4 separate regions of the Homo sapiens genome follow, and regions 1, 2 and 4 are each linked to region 3. Evidence: promoter capture Hi-C in 16 types of primary human blood cells and fetal thymus (Javierre and others, 2016). All regions are on one chromosome and are shown on one strand. Each heading gives the region's core, a stretch centred on a gene start or on the middle of the fragment in contact. The rest is flanking DNA. Distances are from core to core; before and after follow the strand shown.

The links. The method cuts DNA at HindIII sites, captures the fragments that hold promoters and counts their contacts. A CHiCAGO score of 5 or more calls a contact.
Region 1: the fragment with the promoter of MVP here is called in contact with the fragment with the promoter of DOC2A in region 3 in 13 of 17 cell types (erythroblasts, megakaryocytes, M2 macrophages and 10 more); the score reaches 11.5 in erythroblasts.
Region 2: a contact is called between a fragment that was not itself captured here and the fragment with the promoter of DOC2A in region 3, in 13 of 17 cell types (M2 macrophages, endothelial precursors, activated CD4 T cells and 10 more). The highest score is 10.5, in M2 macrophages.
Region 4: a contact is called between a fragment that was not itself captured here and the fragment with the promoter of DOC2A in region 3, in 6 of 17 cell types (M1 macrophages, endothelial precursors, M2 macrophages and 3 more). The highest score is 8.8, in M1 macrophages.

What each region holds. Positions count from the first base shown.
Region 1 is chr16:29,819,042-29,821,741 of GRCh38, reverse strand. It overlaps MVP (major vault protein), which reads right to left and starts at 1,280. Exons shown (of 15, transcript NM_005115.5): 1 at 1,232-1,280. PAGR1 (PAXIP1 associated glutamate rich protein 1) reads right to left here. Exons shown (of 3, transcript NM_024516.4): 3 at 1-2,187. The coding sequence ends at 1,988. It overlaps MVP-DT (MVP divergent transcript), which reads left to right and starts at 1,375. Exons shown (of 4, transcript NR_186424.1): 1 at 1,375-1,558; 2 at 2,141-2,202. RefSeq lists enhancers at 557-846, 309-875, 1,567-1,636. The HindIII fragment of the contact is 7,186 bases long and covers 1-2,700 here.
Region 2 is chr16:29,770,353-29,773,052 of GRCh38, reverse strand. No RefSeq gene overlaps it. Among named protein-coding and RNA genes, the nearest start is that of ZG16, 6.6 kb to the left of the region's middle. The HindIII fragment of the contact is 4,460 bases long and covers 1-2,700 here.
Region 3 is chr16:30,009,629-30,012,328 of GRCh38, reverse strand. It overlaps DOC2A (double C2 domain alpha), which reads left to right and starts at 1,302. Exons shown (of 11, transcript NM_003586.3): 1 at 1,302-1,426; 2 at 2,094-2,368. The coding sequence starts at 2,107. RefSeq lists a silencer at 1,336-1,395. The HindIII fragment of the contact is 12,263 bases long and covers 1-2,700 here.
Region 4 is chr16:29,797,910-29,800,609 of GRCh38, reverse strand. It overlaps KIF22 (kinesin family member 22), which reads right to left. Exons shown (of 14, transcript NM_007317.3): 3 at 2,109-2,236; 4 at 1,863-2,017; 5 at 1,426-1,635; 6 at 1,116-1,346; 7 at 829-982; 8 at 562-697. Among named protein-coding and RNA genes, the nearest start is that of MAZ, 7.3 kb to the left of the region's middle. The HindIII fragment of the contact is 5,122 bases long and covers 1-2,700 here.

The DNA.
Region 1 (2,700 bases), core at 31-2,530, 190 kb after region 3:
ACCTGCAAGTTAAGAAATTTGCCCAAGAGCACACAGTTATCAAAGGACGGAGCCGGAAGTCCAACCTGGCTATAACTGTAGAGACCACAAACTAGGAGGCAGTGGCTTCTCAGGCAGAAACACAAAGATTCTAAGCCGAGAACAAGAACTAGAGGACCTGGGTGGGGCTGTGTACTGCCCAGATGGTGCTAATGGCAGTTCAAAGGTGAGTGTTTCCTGTAAGTTGGGCCAGCGCCCAGCCTCTGCTCCCCCAGAACCTGGGAGGGCAGCACCCAAGATAACCTGAGCACCCCGTTACCTTGGAGCCCTGAGGCTGTCTCTGGGCCACCCACTCAAGGTGGCCCCCCTACCTGCTCAAGGCTACATACAGAGGGCTGTCCTGCCCAAACAGCCACACCCGAGGGCCGACCCAGTGCTCTGTGTGCCAAGGGAGTTTCTGGCAGAGCCACCTGATACCCCACGTGACAGCTGGCCTCTCCCCCATCACCCAGGGGCTACCCAGGCAGAGAGCTGAGAACACAGGGGCCATCAGCCTCGCTATCACCTCCACCCCCAAGTGCTTGGCTCCCCAAGGGACAGCTCTAAAATCCCCAGAATCTCAGGCTGGTGGGTCCAGCTGAGCATCCTAGTTTTCACTTTCTCCTCCCAAAAAGGAAAGAACCTTGGTCACTAAATTCTACGCCTTCTGGAAATCACTCTGCTAATGACTTCCTGAATGATCGACTGAGACCAACAGCTGGCCCAGCCCTGCATGGAGGAGTAAGAAACCCTCATCTGTCAGAGTTAAGGGGCCTGAATGGGTACAGGTCACATTCTTGGAGCTCAAGGTGACAGGCCAGAGCCCAGGTCCCCAGGACAGTGCAGGTGAGTAGAGCAAGCACCGATCTAGGGCTAAGATGGGGTCTGAATGACCCTGTAAGGTTCCCCACCTGATTTCCCAGGTGGGACCCTGAAGTCAGAGAGAGGCCTGAGAGTTGCAGGGGGGTGGGGGACCGGTGTTGGTGTTAATCTGCCTTTACTTCAAAACCCAGAAGACTCCCAACTATTGGAAAGTGAAACCTCCAAAAGCAAAGCCACCACCCATCCTCCTTCCCCACTCTGATTCAGACATGTTTTCCCTGCCCCAGCAGAAGCAAGGCCCTTCAAAGCAAGACAGGACTAAAGAGAGCCTCAAGGGATACAAAGATCTGCCCCTGATTTGGGGTTTGGGGGGCTAGTACAATGTACTCACATCTAGAAGTGCAGGTAGCTGCAACAAACGCCTCAGATGGGGAACTCTCACCCTGCCTTGGGGATCACTTCCCGGCAGGGCAAGGCAGGCCAAGCCCAGGGGTGGGGCTTGGGAGTTAAAGGGCCCGTGTGCAGCTGGTTCTCATTTTATCCTCCGGGCTGCTTCTGCTGCAGCTGAAGGCACACTGCTCCCTGAGTGCTCATGGGTTTCTACCTTGGAGCCAGCTGGCTGCACTGGAGTGGGACTGGGAGGAGTTGGAGGGCCCGAGATGGGACAGGTGCTAACTGAGGGCACCTCTACCCATCTGGCTTTCATTTTCCAATCTGGGTGAGTACAATTCTGCCTCTCCCTTCAAGTGGGGCCTAACTGTTGAGCTACAGCTACAGCCCCTCCTTTTAAGAGATGATAGCTCTGCATCTTTTATTTCAGACTCAGAAAATTCAGTCCAGGTCTCTGAATAGGTGTTCAATAGAAAACACACACTCACACACTCTCTCTATATAGATGTTCAATAGAAAACACACACACTCTCTCTATAGGTGTTCAATAGAAAACACACACACACACTCTACAGGTGTTCAATAGAAAAAACACACACACACACTCACACTCTCTCTTCCTCTTTCCCGCAACGTGCTGTTTGGGAGCTTGAGGTTTCTCTCTTCTTCCCAAGTTTCTCAATGTCTGGGCTGGGGAAGGAGGGCCCAGGCTCCAGCAGGTACGGACACTGCACCCTAGAGGCAGGAGCAGTGGGAATCAGTATTTCCGCTGCCGAGGGAAGAGACTACTCCCGGAGGATCGGAGTGGGGGGCTGGCGGGGCTGGGGTCCTCCGAGTCCAGGCTGAAGAGGTCCCTCCCGGTACGAAGGATCTGCTCCTCCAGCTTCTTGTGTCTCTTCATGTCCGACAGCACCTTGTCCAGGCGGGCCTCCCGTTTCTGGCTCCGGGCTGAGCTTCCTGGAGAAGAGGAAGGTAAGATACATGGAAGGGATGGAGGTGGTGTACACCATACCTGCCTGGACCTCACTCATCACTTGGGGAGCTGGTTAAACATGCAGGTCCCCAGGCCTCTGTCTTGGAGGACCTGAGGTTCAGGGTTGGACCTCAGAGAGGGTGAGAAGCAAAGATCTTGATTGACAGGAAGGCACAGGTAATGTGAAGAACAGGGAGGAACATACTGGGCAGGGGAATGGCAAGGGTAGAGGCCCCAGGACAAGAACAGAGTTCTGTTCAAAGAAGAGTGCAGGCCGGGCATGGTGGTTCACGCTTGTAATGCCAGCACTTTGGGAGGCTGAGGTGGGCAACTCACGAGGTCAGGAGTTTGAGACCAGCCTGGCCAACACAAAAAATTAGCTGGGCGTGGTGGTGGGCGCCTGTAATCCCAGCTACTTGGGAGGCTGAGGCAGAAGAATCGCTTGAACCCGGGAGGTGGAGGTTGCAATGAGCCAAGATCGCACTACTGCACTCCAG
Region 2 (2,700 bases), core at 141-2,640, 240 kb after region 3:
TAGCTGGGCATAGTGGTGCACACCTGCAGTCTCAGTGCTTGGAGGACTGAGGTCAGAGGATTGCTTGAGCCTAGGATTTTGAGGCTGCAGAGAGTTATGATCATGCCATTGCACTCCAGCCTGGGTGACAGAGCGAGACTCCGTCTCAAAATAAATAAATAAATAAACAAAAAAAAAATATTTTAAAAGGAGAAATGAATGGACCCGAAAGATAGGAATTAACTTGTAAATGATTCTCTTTGGAATTTGAATAAGCCCAAGAGACTGACTATCTTGTGAAAAAGTCTGTCTATGTTTGGTCACATGCTTCAGTCTTATTTTCTGCCATAATGAGGTTATCTGCCATAGATAACAAGCTGAAAGTGTGATGAATTTGGAAATAATGAAGAGAGGAGGGTGGCTGGAGGGAAATGAGGGAAGCCGACCTGTGAGGCCTGGGCAGCAGCCAGTGGGCAGAGTGTGCAGAGCCTGAGAGGTGTGGTCAGGAGTTTGGCTTTTTTTTTTTTTTGGAGATGGAGTCTCACTCTGTCACCAGGCTGGAGTGCAGTGATGCAATCTCAGCTCACTGCAACCTCTGACTCCCTGGTTCAAGCGATTCTCCTGCCACAGCCTCCCAAGTAGGTGAGATTACAGGCATGCGCCACCACGCACAGCTAATTTTTGTATTTTTAGTAGAGACGGGGTTTCGCCATGTTGGCAGGATGGTCTCGAACTCCTGACCTCGTGATCCGCCTGCCTCGGCCTCCCAAAGTGCTGGGATTACAGGTGTGTGAGCCACCGCGCCCGGCCTGGAGGAGTTTGGCTTCTTTTCTCACAGTGAGGGGAGACATGGAAGGGTTTTGAACAGAGGGGTACATGCTCATATTTGCATTTTAGAAGGATTGCTCTCTCCTGATTTTGATAAAGTGGAGGAGGGACTTGGGCAGGGTAAGAGTGGAGACAGGCATGGCAGATGTGGTGTGACCTTCTCCCCTCCCATCTAGAATTCCCCTGAAAGCTCCTCCCTCTCTCAGGTGAAGCAGCTTTGCCCTCTTTTCAAAGTTTTGATGCAATTTCAGACCTGTGGTGGGGATCTGCCTCTCCACCCCCATCCAGAAGGTTTCCGACACCTGTGGCTCATGCCTGTAATCCTAGCAATTTGGGAGGCCAAGGCAGGACGATAGCTTGAGGCCAGGAGTTTGAGACCAGCCTGGTCATCATAGCAAGACCCCCCCCACCCATCCCCACAAAAACTAAAAAACTAATTTAAAAAAATTATTTGAGGGCTGAGCACTGTGGCTCATACCTATAATCCCAGCACTTTGGGAGGGCAAGGCAGGCAGATCTTTGAGGTCAGAAGTTCGAGACCAGCGTGACCAACATGGTGAAACCTTGTCTCTACTAAAAATACAAAAATTATCCGGGCATGGTGGTGGATGCCTGTAATCTGCTGCAGCTGCTTGGGAGGATGAGGCAGAAGAATGGCTTGAACCCGGGAGGCAGAGGCTGCAGTGAGCAGAGATCGCACCATTGCACTCCAGCCTGGGCCACAGAGCGAGACTCCATCTCAAAAAAAAAAAAAAATTAGCTGGGCATAGTGGTACACACCTGCAGTCTCAGTACTTGGAGGACTGAGGTCGGAGGATTGCTTGAGCCCAGGAGTTTGAGGCTGTAGAGAGTTATGATCATGCCATTGCACTCCAGCCTGGGCAACAGAGTAAGACCGTGTCTCAAATAAATAAATAAATAAAATAAAATAATAAAAATGTTTTGGCCAGTTGCGGTGGCTCACGCTTGTAATCCCAGCACTTTGGGAAGCTGAGGCTGGCAGATCACCTGAGGTCAAGAGTTTGAGACCAGCCTGGCAAACATGGTGAAACCCTGTCTCTACTAAAAATACAAAAATTAGCCAGACATGGTGGCAGGCACCTATAATCCCAGCTACTTGGGAGGCTGAGGCAGGAGAATCGCTTGAACCCAGGAGGTGGAGTTTGCAGTGAGCTAAGATCGCGCCATCGTACTCCAGCCTGGGTGACAAGAGTGAAACTCCGTCTCAAAAAAAAAAAAAAAAAGTTTCAAAATATATTTCCAAACAGTGGGAGATCTGTTTCCTGTTAAGAAAAAAACATTATCTGCTTCCTATTTATACACTGGGCCTTGGTGCACGTTTTCATTTGGAAGAAGGGTCTGACGGCATGAGCGCTGCTTTTCTGTTCACTCTTAGTTGTTCCAATGAATAAAGTAATGGGCAGAAGTGACTTCACCAGGTTGCCAAGGGGAGTCCTGCTCTCCGCCCACAGTGACCTGCAATTGCTAATCTTCAACTCTGCCCATGCACACTCCAGCTGCCTAAAATGCTCTCCTCCTTCTGCCCACCTGGCAACCTCCAGGTTATTCAGAGGGGACCACCACCAGCCTGCACCACCACCCACCCTTCTCACAGGAAGGCCTCAGCTCTCTTCTCCTCCCAGCTCCTCCTCTTCAAATAGAATTCATCATTCCTTTCTTTGGCTTCTGTGTGTTTCCTACATTACTCTATTATGGTTCTAATTACCCTGCACTATAATTTATATGTTTACATGTAAGCCTTCTCCACTAAACTGAGAGCTCATTCTCAGGCAGGGGCCATGACTCAGTCATCTCCAAATTCCCAGCATCTGGCATCACACCTGGTACAGAGTAAGCATCCGTGGATGGTTATCCAATGAATACAGCACCTTG
Region 3 (2,700 bases), core at 53-2,552:
CTGGCGAAGCGGTGCTGAGCCGAGTCCTGACGGCGCTGGAGCTGAGGGGCAGTGCGGGATGCCCCAGGAAGGCTCCTAGGAAGAGGGGACCCACGGTGACTTCCTAAGGAAGCGCGGTTCCCAGGTAGAGGAGCGCATGTGAGCCAAGATCCCTAGGCCTGAGCCGTCTAGGTGTGTCCCAGGAACTGCAGGAAACGGTTGGGTGAGTCAGTGGTGGGCAGCGAGGGTGATAAGCCCCTTCGTGTCTTCGGGATGGTAAGTTTGGGGCACAGGTGAGTGAAGACCGAAGGCCAGGGGTGGACTGACACTCCGTGGCAGGCGCAGGGCCGGGCAGGGGGGCGGCTTGGGGGTGGCAAGGTTTGGGTGAGAAATGGCAGCCCATGGGGAACTACCGCAGGGCTCTGAGACCTTCAGAGCCAAGCCCCGACGCCCCTTCCCACCTGCGGGGCAGAACTGGGGATGGCAGGGGGGAGGGTGGTTCCCAAAGGAGATACCATCCCTGGTAAGGGGACATGGGCCCCTGGGAGTTGGGTTGGGCCACAAGGAGAGAGGCCTGAACGGCCAAAGGGAGGGGGCGTGGGGGAAGCCGCAGCATCAGACCTCTGCCTCCTCCCTCAGATCGTGAGGCTCCCCAGCCTGGCTCGGGAGACCCCGAGATCCCCGGCCGGTGACAGCAGGCGACCCCCTGCTCCTGTCAACCTGTGGGTCCCTACGGACGTGGGGAAGGGAGGAGGGAGGCCCCAGCTCCCTGCGGGGGAGGGGCGTGAAGACGCGCGGGGGTGGGGGGAGATGAGCCGGCGTCGCCATGACAACGAGGCCGGTGGTCCGGCCTTGGGGACCCGGGAGGGAGGGAGGCGCCGTGGCCGCGCGCGCGGGCGGGGGCGGGGGGCCAGGTCTCCCAGGAGTAGTTGGGGAACACCCGGCGATTCTGGCGGCTGCTTCCTGGTGGCGCAGGGAGCCCGCGTGTTTGCGAGTGCGTGTGTGTGCGAAGTTCTCCGGGTAAGTGTGCCAGCGCGCGCCTGGGTGTGTGCAAGGGTGTGAGCGTGCACACGTGGGCACGGGCGTGTGCGCGCGGGGGTGCCCGGTTGGATGTGTGCACACGAGTGTGTGCCGGTCCGCGTGCCCCTGCGTGAGTGTGCGCGCGCGAGCACACGTGTGTGTGCGCGCTCGCGTGCGCTCCCGAGCGGGCCCCGGGTGGGAGTCCGAGATCCCGCCCCCTCCCCAGCCCCAGCGCCCCTCCCCGTCCCCCGCCGCCGCGCCGGCTGCATCCTCGCCTCCACCTCGCTCACCCCCTCCTCCCCGCACTTTCTCGGCGCTCCCTCCCTCTCGGCTCGCACAGCTCGACTCCGCGCTCTCCTCGCCGGCCGCCGCCGCCCAGCCTGCGCCCGCCGTCCCCCCAGTGCCTGGGCACCTGTTGGAGGCAGAGGCAGGTGCAGGGGGCTGGGCAGGCCGGGGGCGTGAGGGTGCGGGGAAGCGTGCCAGCCTGTGTGCGCTACGGGGGTGTTCGGCTCTCCTGCGGCTGCAATTTCTGGCTCCCCTGAGGAGCCAGAGGTGGCATCTGAGGCTGGGGTCTCCACCGTGGGCTGTGGTGAGCGAGCGGGGGAACCAGGCAGGCAGACAGGTCCTGGGGCTGAATGAGGGGACAGTGGGCAGTTGGAGCCTAGAGGGGTGGGTGACACCCTGACTAGACCAGCGCCTGGTGCAGAGGAGGACAGAGCCTCCGAGAAACAGAGGCGGGGCCCTGCAGGGCCCCTTGGGGGACAGGCAGGCTCAGGAGCAGAGGGGAGCCCCGGAGGAGAGGAAGGAGCTGGCAAGATGATACAGGGACAACCTAGAAGTGGGTGGGTGAGGACGGGGTGGTGCAACCTCGACTTCTGCAAGGAGTGGGTTGGCAGCCCAGCCCCTGTGGAGTCAGCTTGGGGTCTGCAGGGCCCAGGCCTCCCACCTGCCACCGGCTGGCACACACCACCCTCTCCCTCGACACCTAGGAAGGGAGGCCAGTGAGGGCCCCACAGACCGAGGAGGCCGTCGCCTGGCCCTCAGCCAGGATGGCTAGGTATGATGGGCTCACTGGCTCACACGCCCTCTCCTAGCCAGGGGTGCTGCATGAGGGGCCGCAGGGGCGATCGCATGACCATCAACATCCAGGAGCACATGGCCATCAACGTGTGCCCCGGGCCCATCCGGCCCATCCGCCAGATCTCTGACTACTTCCCCCGGGGACCAGGACCTGAAGGGGGCGGCGGGGGCGGCGGGGAGGCCCCCGCCCATCTGGTCCCCCTGGCTCTGGCCCCCCCTGCAGCCCTCCTTGGGGCCACCACGCCTGAGGATGGTGCGGAGGTGGACAGCTATGACTCGGATGATGCCAGTGAGTCTGGGGGCTTGGAGGCCCCATGTGCTGGTGGGGGTCTCCAGGCTTGCCGTGGTGGGGGGAGAGGGGGATGGGCCCTGCTGGCTGTGCATGTAGGTAGGGGAGGAGGGCAGTGGGGGGGTGGCAGGGACGGCCACCACAGCTGCAGTCAGCGTGGAGATTACAGCTTCAGCAAGGCTCAATATTCAGTATTTCTGCTGAGACACTCCACCACCCACACAGCCCCAGTTGCGGCCGAGCCAGGGACCCAGACGCACACACGCATGGGCCCACTCAGCCTCTTGCACTCACACTCGCGGGCTGGCAAGAGAGAGAGACACACAGAGCCA
Region 4 (2,700 bases), core at 51-2,550, 210 kb after region 3:
TATTTTTAGTAGAGATGGGGTTTCACCATGTTGGCCAGGCTGGTCTTGAACTCCTGACCTCAGGTGATCCACCCGTCTTGGCCTCCCAAAGTGCTGGGATTACAGGCGTGAGCCACCGTGCCTAGCCAGGGTTGAATTCACTTATTTACTTTGAGACGGAGTCTTGCTGTGTCGCCCAGGCTGGAGTGCAATGGCCACAATCTCAGCTCACTGCAACCTCTGCTTCCTGGGTTCAAGGGATTCTCCTGCCTCAGCCTCCCAAGTAGCTGGGATTACAGGCACATGCCACCACATCCGGCTACTTTTTGTATTTTTTAGTAGAGATGAGGTTTCACCATGTTGGCCAGGCTGGTCTCGAACTCCTGACCTCAGGTGATCCACCCAACCTCAGTCTCCCAAAGTGCTGGGGTTACAGGAGTGAGCCACCGCATCCGGCCTAGGGTGAATTTAATGGGAGAGGAACAAGATCACAGCTCTCTGCTCAAGGATCTGACGGGCATTGCAGCTCTGCTGCTAAGCCATACATCAGGAAGGGGATACACCCAAGGCCCCACTGCTCACCTGAGTTTCTGGGAGGCAGAGGCTGGAGCTGCCATGGGCTCAGGGCTCCCGATCTCCTCTTCCTCAGGGCCTCGGGCTCTCTTTGCCTCTGGTGGACCAAGCAATTCTTTCTGAGACAGCTTAACAGGTCCCAAGGCTAGATGATTGGAGGATGGGGTGGAGAGAGGGATTGGGGGTGGTCAGCCTCTGTGCTGATGCTTGGTGGTTTCAACAAACTCCCTAATTTCCAGACCCAGCGTTTCCACTCCTGCCTCCCCCAGTTCTCACCATGAGGCTGCAGGCTCTCATTGGTAAAAGGCCGATTGATCACCTCCTTGGACCTGGCAGCAAAGTTGAGTGCGGAGACTGTGTCTAGGTAGAAGCGTCTCTCAGGGGCAATGTTGGCAATAAGGATACTGTGGGCTGAGCCACCCAGAGAGTCCTGAGGGTGAGACCAGGCAGTGGGTGGGTCAGAAGCCCAGCCTTCCTATGCCTCAACTGCTATTCCCCACCCCACAGCAGGCCTGAGAACCTCCTTCTGCAGCCCCTTCTTCCCTGAGACAGGTGGGCCTGACCTGCAATAGGCGAGTGAGCTTGCTGTCCCGATAAGGTACACGAGGGAGGCCCTGATTCAGCGCATCTACCACTTTGCCCAGGACAAACAGGGAGGTGTTGATGGCTCCACTCTCTTTTAGCCGAAGGCCCTTGTTGCCTGTGCGCCGGTTGTCCTCTGACCCAGCCAAGTCAATCAGGTAGAGTTTTCCCTCTCGCTGGCGAAATGGGGCCAAACGTTCCCGCTGGTCCACCTGGGGGTAAGAACAAAGGTCTCGTGCTTAGCTCAGGCTCCTGGGCTTCCCAGGTCCTCGCCCCTGTCTGCGGCCTCACCTTGACCAGGAGCACAGCATGACTGCGGGAGGAGCGCTGGTTGAGCCGGGTGGCTCCTACAGTCCGATTTCGACTGGCTGGCAGGAAGTGCCGCTCAAAATCAGCAAAGCTACTGATGGGCTTCTGGGAGAGACCCGGAATCAGGATATTCCCCCGGCAGTCTTCTCGGATTACCAGGTCTCCCGAAGCAGGGTCCAGGAGGTCTAATACCTGTGTAAGCAGTGAAGGGGAAGGGCAATTCTCCATAGAGAGGCTGTTTCTTCCTGGGGATCAGTTTCCTTTCTCTGTTCTATTCTCGGAGTTGTACCATCTGCTACCCCAGTCTCTGTCTTTCTAGGTCTCACCTTACCTCCCTGCTACAGCAGAGCTTCATGTTCTAGAACCAGGTCTTACTTTGACCCTTTGTTGCTCCTCTCCCAACCAGCACGGGGCCTCACCTTCTCCTGGTAGATCTCTAGGTAAGACATGGTGACAGAAAGGGCCCATGGCCGGCCCTCGGCACCCTCCTCCCTTGTGAGCTGCAGGAGGTCCATGAGAGCCCGCGGGATCACCCCAGGTTGCTCTGGGCTGCCCAGCATTGTGTGCGTCTTCCCTGGGAAGAGAGTGGAGAAAACTGTGAGGTTTTCCTCTCCGTTTCCCCAGCCCTTTCTGACCCATAGCTGTTTCTTTTCTGGCTCCCTCACCAGCTCCTGTGGGTCCATAGGCAAGCACACTGGCATTCTGCCCTTCCAGCAAGTGCCTTAGGATGGGCTGCACTGAACCTGCATAGATGTCCTGCTGAGTACTCCTCTCCCCATAGAAGGCATCAAACCTGCAGGAAGAAAGAAAGAAATTAGCGTGTGTGTGTGTGTGTGTGTGTGTGTGTGTGTGTAAGGGGTGGAGTGGGGTGGGGGTGGGTAAGGGATTCTACTCTCATCTGGACCTTGGATTTAAGAGAACGTCTCTATCCCCTTTCTTGTACAAAGACCTTAAAAAGCATCCACCTAACACCTACTCCATCCTCATCTCTCTATTGGTGTTAGGAATACAGAGATAGATCTGATATCCCTGCTCTTGGAGTTTTTCAGTCTGGTAGGATAGATATCCACACTTTGCTGTGATTTAGGAAACGAAGATAAGAACACACTCTCAAAGGAGTAACTGATTCTGCTCAAGGAAGGAAGATTTTGACCAAAGAAAGAAATTCTGAGAATCAAGAATAGCAAAAAAGCAAGGCTTCCCAGTCTTTTTCAAATGGCTACATGTGTAGAACATTGTATTTTACACCATAATGGG